Linked DNA regions of Homo sapiens: region 1 is linked to region 2. The links are contacts of gene promoters, found by promoter capture Hi-C in blood cells and fetal thymus (Javierre and others, 2016). All regions are on one chromosome and are shown on one strand. Each heading gives the region's core, a stretch centred on a gene start or on the middle of the fragment in contact. The rest is flanking DNA. Distances are from core to core; before and after follow the strand shown.

Region 1 (5,197 bases), core at 793-3,292, about 20 Mb before region 2:
TCTTGGCTTCTCTCATCATATGTTCACAGAGCTGATTAAATGCAGGGTGGCTAAACATCAGTCGTTTTTCAAAGCGCTTCTGGTCATCAGACAGTCTTTTGGCAATTGTCCACATTGCTGTGAAATAGTTGCTACTAGGAAATGTGGGCGCTTTTGAAAATGCATCTAACACATCACTCAGGGAATTACATTCCTCAGACAGTTTTCTACTGCTGATACGGTTTGGTTTTGTTTCCTTGGTAAGAACATCTTCATTGGAGACTTCATGATTAAGGTTTACTTTCTTCAATTCATCATCAGATTTATCAACAGGGACAAGAGACTGCTTTGAGTCAAAAAACAGTCTTTTAGCATAAAGTAGTCTTTCAATTCTAAGGGCTGTTAGAGTGCTTATGCCCTTTGTTTGAAAGCCAACATCTGATTTAAAAATGAATGCATCCTGAAAGAGATATCTAATGATATCAGTTGATTGCATTCTGTTATGAAAGTTATTTAAAATGTTCCAGTTTGAATGAACTATTTTTGGTTTGCAAAGTCCCAAACAACATAGCCTCATAGTTCTGCTTGTTGAAACTAATGTACTGAATTGTCTAAGGTTCCAGAAAAAGGAGCCCGCTTTGTTATTCATTTTGCTCTCCACTGAAACACTTCCAAATGGCTTCAAAGTTGTCAACATGAAACCAACGTCACTTCTACTAGTGAAAAAGAACACGTGCTGTCGTTTTCCTGTAGGGGAAGAAGTAATGAAAAGAATAAAAATTAAAACAAAACTTTTACTTAAAGAAATGAAATGCATTTAACAGAAGAGAAAATGGGGAACCTATGGAGCCATTAAACATTTACATAAAACAGTAAAAGTTTTTTTTACCAATGTGGGCTCCCTCCAATCTACCACAATGTGTCCAGTTTCAAAGAAGCCAGGTCACTTTGGAAGTAGTCATTGTATTAATGAGATTTTTCTGGTGCAAAAGCGTTCCATAAAGCTTTCTCTGTAGGAGAGACTTTTGTTGGCATTGTTATGGAAATGTCCTCGGTGAAAATTAGGGGATTAGCATTGATAGATCATTTTCTTTTCTCTTCTCTGTTTTTTTTTTTTTTTTTTTTTTTTTTGAGACAAAGTCTTGCTATGTCCCCCAGGCTAGAGTGCAGTGGCGCGATCTTGGCTCACTGCAACCTCCACCTCCCAGGTTCAAGCAATTCTCCTGTCTCAGCCTCCCAAGTAGCTGGGATTACAGGCGTATGCCACCACGCCCGGCTAATTTTTGTATTTTTTGTAAAGACGGAGTTTCACCATGTTGGCCAGGCTGGTCCTGAACTCCTGACCTCAGGTAATCCACCCGCCTCGGCCTCCCAAGGCGTGAGTCACCGCGCCCGGCTGATAGATCATTTTCAACATGACGATTTAGCAACGGCCGAACCCAGACCATCAAGAATAGGGACCTGGGCAGGTAGAACGGCTCAGTGGAAGAAGCAGAAAACGAAAGCGATGTCTGCACGTGGCCTGCGCTTAAGAGGAAGATCTTATACAACCAGCCAGCCTCACCAGACCCCAGAACCAACTTCAAGAGCCTGTCCTTCCGCAGCTGGGCCGCCCAGCATTAACCCACCTCCTTTAAACTTACTTCCAGGACAACTCGTGAGACTCTTCTCCTCGAAGTAAAAAGTCTAGGATGTGATACGGGCTGCCGCTAAGCCCAAGCTCGTCCTCCACTCACCTTAGAGCACAAGACCGTGACTACGTACAGGAGCAGCCATGACAGCTTCCCCGAGAAGCTGCGCTTCTCACGAGATCTTACGGATTCCCTCAAAGGTCAAAAAGCATATGTTCGCGGCTGTAGCTGAAGGACTTACTTGAAGAAAGTTTACCAAGGAGAATGACTAATTTCCCTGCATACAGGAGTGGGGCTCGGGGATACCACAGAGCTTATAAGGGCGATGTTTGATCGTGTATCGCAACGTAACCCATTCAGGTCCTAACTTTAAACACCTAACCTCTGCTGGGCGCCAGACTTTGTAGTGCGCCTGCGCCTTGCCCTTGGCTGCGTGGTTGCCAGGAAACCGCGAAGCCGCGGTCCCTGCCTCTGAGTCTCTCTCGACCATGGCCAAATTCGTCATCGCGGGTGAGTGATCCCCGCGTCCGCCCGCAGATTGCTCAAAACGCCGACAACAGCTCACCTCCCATGGCCGCTCGGCTTGGCAGCCTCTATACGGACCGCTCCATGCTTTGCTATAGATTTATTCAAAGTTTTTTACTGGACCGTGACGGTGCGCCAAGCATTGTGGGACACTGGGGATGCAATGGAGGGAAACATATCCCTGCCTTAGAGGAGCTTTCAGTCTCATGGGGCACAGAACATGTACTTTTGATACGGTGTGATTAACGCGATGAAGGAGACCTGCACAGGCCTCTGGGAGCGTAGACTCCTAATCTGGGTTTGGGGGATGAGGGAGAGGTGGACACAAGGAACTGGCTGGGGAAGGTATTACAGGAGCTGAGTTGTGAAGGTGTGAGCTGAGGAGGCTATTCCAAATAAAAGCAGAGAGGCAGGAAGCTTCCTGGCCTAACAGAAGATCTGGATATGTGGGGCGTGACAGGACCTGGGGCTACAACAGGAGCAGGAGCCAGGTCCTTGCATTTCATGTAGGTCAAGCAAAGGTGTTTGAACTGTATCCTGAAAGCAATGAGGAATTATAGAAAAATTTTAAGCAGGAGAGTAGTCTTAATGAGTTTGCATTTTAGGAAGCCTGTCTTGGCAGCAACGGAGAGAATGATTGAAAGTGCTGGTTGACAGCAAGGACTCAACTGAGAAGGCTTTTATTACAACAATCCATGGTACCTACCTCCTCTCCTCGTAAAGTTTCTTAAAAGAGTAGACTGCTCTTCCATCTCCAGTTCTGCCTTCCAATCAGTCTTGGAAGAAGGCTTCTACTTCTGCTTCCTGACAGAAACTGCTGTCACCAAAGTCACCACTGACTTTTATAGAAGCTGTTTAGTCTTTGACTTATTTGATCTCTTTGATGCATTGAACACAATTGACATCTACCATCCACAGGAGATTTTTTTTTTTTTTTGAGACAGGCTCTCACTTTGTCACCCAGGCTGGATTGCAGTGGTGCAATCGTGGCTCACAGCAGCTTTGACCTCCTGGGCTCAAGCGATCCTCCCACCTCAGCCTCCCAAGTAGCTGGGACTACAGGCATACACCAGCATGCCCAGCTAATTTTTGTATTTTTGTAGAGATGGGGTTTTGTCATGTTGCCCACGCTGGTCTTGAACTCCTACGCTCAAGTGATTTGCCCACCTTGACCTCCCAAAGTGCCAAGATTACAGGCATGCACCACCACACCTGGCCCAGAAGAATATTTTTGAACACTGACTAACCACATGGTGGGAAGTCAGTGGAAAACACACAGAGAATGTTGCATGTATGACACTGACAGGGCAGGGTTCTATAGGAACGATAGCAGGGACCTTACTTAATCAGGTAAGGGTTTCCCAGAGGGAGAGATTTTAAGCAGATACCTGAAAGATGATAATGAATTACCTAACAGAGAAGAGGTAGAAAGGAGGGGAGCAATTTAGGCATGGGTAACTGGGAGTGGGGTTAGAGCAAGGAGAACTAGTTTGGTGACAATTGAGAATATAAAATAAGTATAAAATTGAAATAAGTTTATTAGGACTGAAGCAAATAGTACAAGGAAGAGAATTTCATAAGGTGAGGCTAGAGTTAGATAATGTAGATTCTTTTGAGCCACATTCAGTAGTTTAGACTTTATCCAGAGTACATGAAAGGTTTTTAGAAGGGGAGGAGGGCCTAATCAAATCTGAATTTTATCTGAATGTTACGGCTATAGTGTGGGACAAAAAGACTGGATACCAAGAAACCAGTTAGGAGACTAGTGCTATAGTCCAGGAGGGAGTTGATTGTGACCTGGCCTAGAGTGGCAAACAATGGAGATGGAGAGAAGTGAATGGATTGGAGAGATATTAGGGAGGCAGAATCTATAGAACTGGATGTCTAATTGACTGGAGGAGGGCAGATAAGGGAGAAAAAGGAGTTAAACATTGTTCCCAAGCAGAGGTTTGAATAATTGCAGAGATTAGGAGTCACTGAAAAAAAAAAAAAAGCGGATGAGTAGGTTTAATACTCTGGATACTCTTACTACTCTTAGATAATTAGGGAGATGGACATAATAAATATAAGCGACTAAGCACATTTAGTAGGGGAATGGTGACAAAATACATCATAGACCTTCTGAGTGTCTATGAGACATTTTGAAGGAGATGGGAAAATACAGGAGGGTGTAGGCATCTAGATAAGGAGATCTGAGCTGGAAATATAGATTGCTACTTGAAGCCAAGGGAATGAAGCAGATTGGCCAAAAAGAATATGTAAGTTATAAAGACAAGATGCTTCTCAGAATGATACCTTTTAATGGGTTGATAAAGGAATGGAAACCTACAAAGGATAGAAAGGAGTGACCATAGAATAGGAGAACTGGGAGAATGCCCCCACTATAGCAGTGTTTCAAAAGCCTGGAAGGGGGCAGTGGTGGCAAATGCTGCCAAGGGTCAACAAGAAAAGGATCGGAAAGTATCTGCTGGATTTAGTGGCATGGAAGTCTTCAGTGACCTTCAAGAGAATTGTGGGGTCTGCTACATTGCAGTGGGTGAGAAATAAATGGAAGTGAAGAACTGAGGATGGCAAATATAGGGAACTCTTTCAAGATATTTTGATCAAAAAGGACATACGAAAGGCAATAGCTAGAGGGGGAGATGAGTTTTTTGTCTCTTAGGACAGGAGAAACATAATGTAATGAGTATATTTAAATATGACAGAAAGGGACTATTAGAAACAGATACAAGACTCTAGAAAGAGAGGATAATTAACTAAGCAAGGTTCCTATGAAGGCAGATGAGGATGGGATTCAGAGCATAAGTGGTGGGATTAGATTAGACAGGAGGTAGGACTCCTCTTCCATTGAAATGAAGAAAGGAGGAAAGGATGAGTCCAAGTACAGACAGGCATGTAGATGTGATGGACGAGGTTGGAGATTTTCCAAACTAATGCCATTTTGTTTTGTTTGGGTTGGTTTTTGTAAAGTAAAAAGCAAAGTTGTCTGTTGTGTTCTGATAATGCAGAGGAATGTTGGGGAGAAGGAAAAGATTTGGAGGAAGAGGAAAAAGACTGGAATA
Region 2 (5,008 bases), core at 1-2,500:
GACGGCCCTTGCAACGCGGAACGTTGGCAACTTGAAAACATAACTGAATTATTAAATACTGCAGTATTCAAATGACCTGCAGCGAGTGAAAACTCAGCAAACACCCTTGTTCCTTCTGAACAATGACCTAAATAGTGAATCACTATAAAAAGAACAGATGACACATTCAATTCATCTGTTCAACCTCAAATGTGCAAATGTCTGACAGTCCCAGAGATAAGACACAATGAATTCAATAGGACAGTATGGTCATTTTAAGTCATCAGAATGTCTGCAAAAGGAGTAAGGAGAAACAGAATCAGACAGAGGCGGAAAGAGTGGGGGAGGGCTTGTTTAGGGAGACTGAAAAGGACGGGCGTTAAGCCTGTAAAGCAGAAAAAGGCTACCAAGAAGCCTAACTGGTAGAGGAGAAAAAGAAGTTCGGGGATGATATTGACCAAATCCTCGACACTGGCACAGGAGGCGGGGAGTCCGGCAAGACCAGCCTTTGTTGATTTCCCACTTTCCCCGATTTTTAAGCACAGGTCTGCTTCAAAGCTCTCCCGCTGCCCCTAACCAATTTTAAGAGGTGAGAAGCGGGGTGTAACTGGGTGATGGGTACCAAAGGGAGTTCATTTCCCCAAATATTTCCTCCACCCAGGATATAAACCACTCTGAGAGGTAGGATGGGTGAGACAGACAGACGCCGGGATCTCTCGGAAATCAATCCCAATGGAGAAACGCTGGGTGGGTGCGCGCGGTGGGGGAGGGGGCCGGCTCCAGTTCCAAGTGCGGCCACTTACGAAGACGCGCTGGGCACGAAGAAATCCACGGCGAAGCCGAAGTAACTTCCCTCGGGGCCAGAGTACTCGGCAGGACTGTCCACGTCTAGGTTGAAGGCGCGGCACAGAGGTAGCAGGAGTCCCGAGAGAAGAAGCGGGAGGCCGCGGGGACCGAGGCGCAGCCGTCGCCGCGGCGGAAAAGCCATCGCCGAAGTGCGCGCGGGACGCCAAGCCGGGAGCGGTAGCCACCTCCCCCCGCCCCAGCGAGGCGCCCAGTGCCCGCGGCCCGCCGCCTGCGCGCGCCCAAACTTGCCGGCCGCTCTCTTCTCGGCTAGCCCGGGACAGCTCCGGGGCAGGCAAGAGGGCTGAGCTTCGGAGCGACCGCCAGGGACGAGGGGCGCAGAGCGCGCGGGGCGGGGACAGCAGCGCAGACGGTCCTTTGCTTCCCTCCGGCTCCGCCGCTCCACGCAGCGTCTGAGGCTGGGGACTGCCGGGGTGAGCGCCGCACCTCAGGCCTGAGAGCCGCGGCGGCACTGGGAGGAGACCTGGAAGGAGGAGGAGCCGGCCCGGGAGGCTGCTGTGGAGCTGGAGGAGGAAGTGGGGGAGGAGAGGCGCCCTTCTACAGGGGAGAGCTCAGCGTACTTCCGTGAGTGCAGTCGCCGCCTGTCCCGAGACCTGGGCGTCTGTGCAGGGGCCCCCAGCTCCTGAGCCTGGGTCAGCGGCAGCGCTCCTGGACGAAGGCCTCAGGCTGAGCACCTGAGGAGGCGTGGGGGCGGGGGCGGGGAGATACGGTCCAGCGTCCCAATCTACCCGCGTCCACGGGAGTAGCAAGGGCACCCACGTTCCCTTGTCCCGCCGGGAACTTCCGTGCGACTGTTGTTTAAAAATGAGGAAAGCTTTTTATCAGTTTCTCGTGTTTCTGCTGCTTAGCCTGGCAGGCTCTCACGAACGAAACCCTGTTAATTAATGGTCGTTAATTACACTCCATTCCACAAACACTGAACTTAATTACGGATTTCCAGAAAGCCAGCATAGCCTCTTGCAAGTGAGGTATGTAAAGCTTAACTTAGTAGTCAAAGAAAGGATTCGCAGGGCAAAGAATTGGCAGTGATCGTTTTAAATCAAGTCAGAATAATCGAAGCCTTATTCCCAGTTTGTTAGCTGCGGTTGTATGATTTAGAAACACTGATTTGTTGATTTAGGATGTTTGGATAGACATAATTTCAGAGCTGGAAGAAGGACCGCACACCGGTGAAATAAGGCCCCGCGTGCTTGTTTGCCACTGGTGTGTTTCATCAAGCCTTGACAACACTGGACTGAGAGAGAGGGCCTTGAGGACAGGAACCTTGACCTTTTTCTTAGTGTTCTTATTTCTAGCACCTTGCCAAGCAGATAGTAGTCGATCAATAAAATGTCCAATCAGTGAATGAATAGCAGACGAAATGAGCAAAGTGCCCAGAGAAGTGACTCTTCCATATTTCAAGTGTTTCATGTGCTACAGAATCTGTTGAACAAGGTGAAGTTTAAGTGCATTGTGTGGACTTACAACTTACAAGTAAGTACTGGAACAGTAATTTCTGTTTTCCCAAAGTAACTATTAAAACTCAATCATAATATACATTAATAACTATCAAATAATCCTGTGAAAGGATATGTATATAAATGAAAGTGAAATGCCTAATTCGAATTTGTAATATTTATTGGACCAGGTCCAGGTGCTCATGCTGGCAATCTCAGCACTTTGGGAGACTGAGGCAGGAGGATTGCTTGAGACCGGGAGTTCCAGGGGAACATAGGGAGACCTCATCTCTACAAAAATTTAAAAATTAGCTGGGAGTGTGGTGCATGCCTGTAGTCCCAGCTATGCCGGAGGCTAAGGCAGGTAGATAGATCGCTTAGGCTCAGGAGTTCCAGGTTATGATAAGTCATGAGCCTGCCACTGCACTCCAGCCTGAGTGACAGAACAAGACCCTGTGTTTAAAAAAAAAAAAGGCCGGGCGAGGTGGCTCATGCCTGTAGTCCTAGCACTTTGGGAGGCTGAGGCCGGCAAATTGCCTGAGCTCGGGAGTTCGAGACCAGCCTGGGCAACACAGTGAAATCCCGTCTCTACTAAAATACAAAAAATTAGCCGGGCGTGGCGGCATGCGCCTGCAGTCCCAGCTACTCAGGAGGCTGAGGCAGGAGAATTGCTTGAACCCGGAAGGCGGAGGCTGCAGTAAGCTGAGATGGTGCCACTGCACTCCAGCCTGGGCCACAGAGTGAGACTCCATCTCAAAAAAAAAATGCATTAAATATTTCCATTTTTAAATTTGACTAAAAGATATGCAGCAAAACCTTTGGCATGTTTTACAAGGCATGGTCTAGCATCTGCCTGAAAGAAATTACTGATTGAGAGAAGAAATCCTACACAAATCCTTACACATAAATGCAAATACAGCTTATTTCTCACCTTCTTTCCTAATACACCAAAGAGGCTATTGATATGTATGCATAAACCCAAAGGGTCTTTTATATCTTAAAAACATGACAACCAGTCTACCTGGAAATCCATCCAGGTAAGGAAGACAGAAGAGTTTAAACTCTGGCTAGATCCAGTAAGTCTCCCACTCCTCAACTTCTGATCGCAGGACAGGGGTCCGACAGACCAAGGTGGAGTGAAGAAATGTGAGAGGACCAGGGAAAAGAAGAAGCCCACGAAATGACAACACATGTACACCCACCAAAACTTGGGTGAACAACACACCCCCAAATAGGGCTACAACTTACTGAAAGCACTTACTGTTGAGCCATTCTTTATGAGTTTATTTTGAATGAGCAGTCTTGAAAATCAAGGAATTTGTTTTTTTTAAAAAAGCAAATAGTCCAGGCACTGTGGCTCATGCCTGTAATCCCAGCATTTTGGGAGGCCGAGGTGGGTGGATCACCTGAGGTCAGGAGTTCAAGACCAGCCTGGCCAACACAGTGAAACCCCGTCTCTACTAAAAATACAAAAATTGGCCGGGCGCAGTGGCTCACTCACACCTGTAATCCCAGCACTTTGGGAGTCCAAAGTGGGTGGATCACGATGTCAGGAGTTCAAGACCAGCCTGGCCAAGATGGTGAAAGCCTATCTCTACTAAAAATACAAAAATTAGCTGGGTGCAGTGGCAGGCACCTGTAATCCCAGCTACTTGGGAGGCTGAGGCAGGAGAATCACTTGAACCTGGGAAGCAGAGGTTTCAGTGAGCCAAGATCGTGCCACTGCACTTCAGCCTGGATGACAGAATGAGACTCCATCTCAAAAAAGAAAAAACAGTAGCCAGGCATGGTGGTGTGTGCCTGTAATCTCAGCTACTCAGGAGACTGAGGCAGGAGAATTGCTTGAACCCGGAAGGCAGAGGCTACAGTGAGCCGAGATATTGTGGTATTGTGGGCCACTGTGCTCCAGCCTGGGTGACAGAGCGAGACTGTCTAACAACAAAAAAAAGCAAACATACATTTCAATTAGGAAACTATGAAGCAGACTAACCCAGTGGCTTTAGAAACTTGGGGTTATAAATGCAGGCATCTCTTTGTGTGACCATGCTCGAGCAGCCACTCACACAGTGCCTTGCAAATTGTATTGTAGAACATGTCAATTCAGCTAGTGCTGATTCAAAATCCACATTGCACCTGGTACTATGTGCATGGGACAGAGAAAAGAATGTTTTAGTCTACGAAAGAATGGTGGTGCCCCTCCCCTACCCCCATGACACTACTCTTTGAACTACATTATAACAGTTTTCCAACTTAAAAGGAGAACTTCTGTGTATACATTAAGTATTCATTGAATATAATCCTTTTCTTAGAAAATAAAATATTAGATAGTAAAAAGAATTTGTACTTTGAATTTTATCCTCTACTACCCTATACTTTAGTAAAAATCTTGATTCCAGTGGTTTCTGTAAAATAAAGCACCTGGGTTCCATTCCTGGCTTTGCCAACTACTAGTTGTATGACCCTGGGGAAATCAATCCAACCAATCTGTGCCTCAGTTTTCTTATCTATGAAAGGGAAAGGGGAGTAATACTATGTCTATCTCTTAGAATTGAACAGTTCTTGTTGCCATTAATACTTTTAAGACTAATAGTTTAGCATGGTAGCAATAATAAATTTTTTTTTTTGAAACAAAGTGTCACTCTGTCACCAGGCTGGAGTGCAGTGGCGCCATGTCAGCTCACTGCAACCTCCGCGTCCTGGGTTCAAGCAATTCTCCTGCCGTAAATTTT

Evidence for each region. Contacts are between HindIII fragments. The CHiCAGO score rates a contact against its expected background, and 5 or more counts as called.
Region 1: a contact is called between the fragment with the promoter of MDH1B here and the fragment with the promoter of ITGAV in region 2, in 1 of 17 cell types (activated CD4 T cells). The highest score is 5.3, in activated CD4 T cells.

What each region holds. Positions count from the first base shown.
Region 1 is chr2:206,762,173-206,767,369 of GRCh38, reverse strand. It overlaps MDH1B (malate dehydrogenase 1B), which reads left to right and starts at 2,042. Exons shown (of 12, transcript NM_001039845.3): 1 at 2,042-2,120. The coding sequence starts at 2,099. It overlaps FASTKD2 (FAST kinase domains 2), which reads right to left and starts at 1,764. Exons shown (of 12, transcript NM_001136193.2): 1 at 1,623-1,764; 2 at 1-726. The coding sequence starts at 676. RefSeq lists enhancers at 1,494-1,873, 2,124-2,263. The HindIII fragment of the contact is 1,569 bases long and covers 986-2,554 here.
Region 2 is chr2:186,586,298-186,591,305 of GRCh38, reverse strand. ITGAV (integrin subunit alpha V) reads right to left here and starts at 1,250. Exons shown (of 30, transcript NM_002210.5): 1 at 783-1,250. The coding sequence starts at 967. LOC124906105 (a long non-coding RNA gene) reads left to right here and starts at 1,410. Exons shown (of 2, transcript XR_007087465.1): 1 at 1,410-2,316. RefSeq lists an enhancer at 768-827 and a silencer at 958-1,187. The HindIII fragment of the contact is 2,158 bases long and covers 1-1,659 here.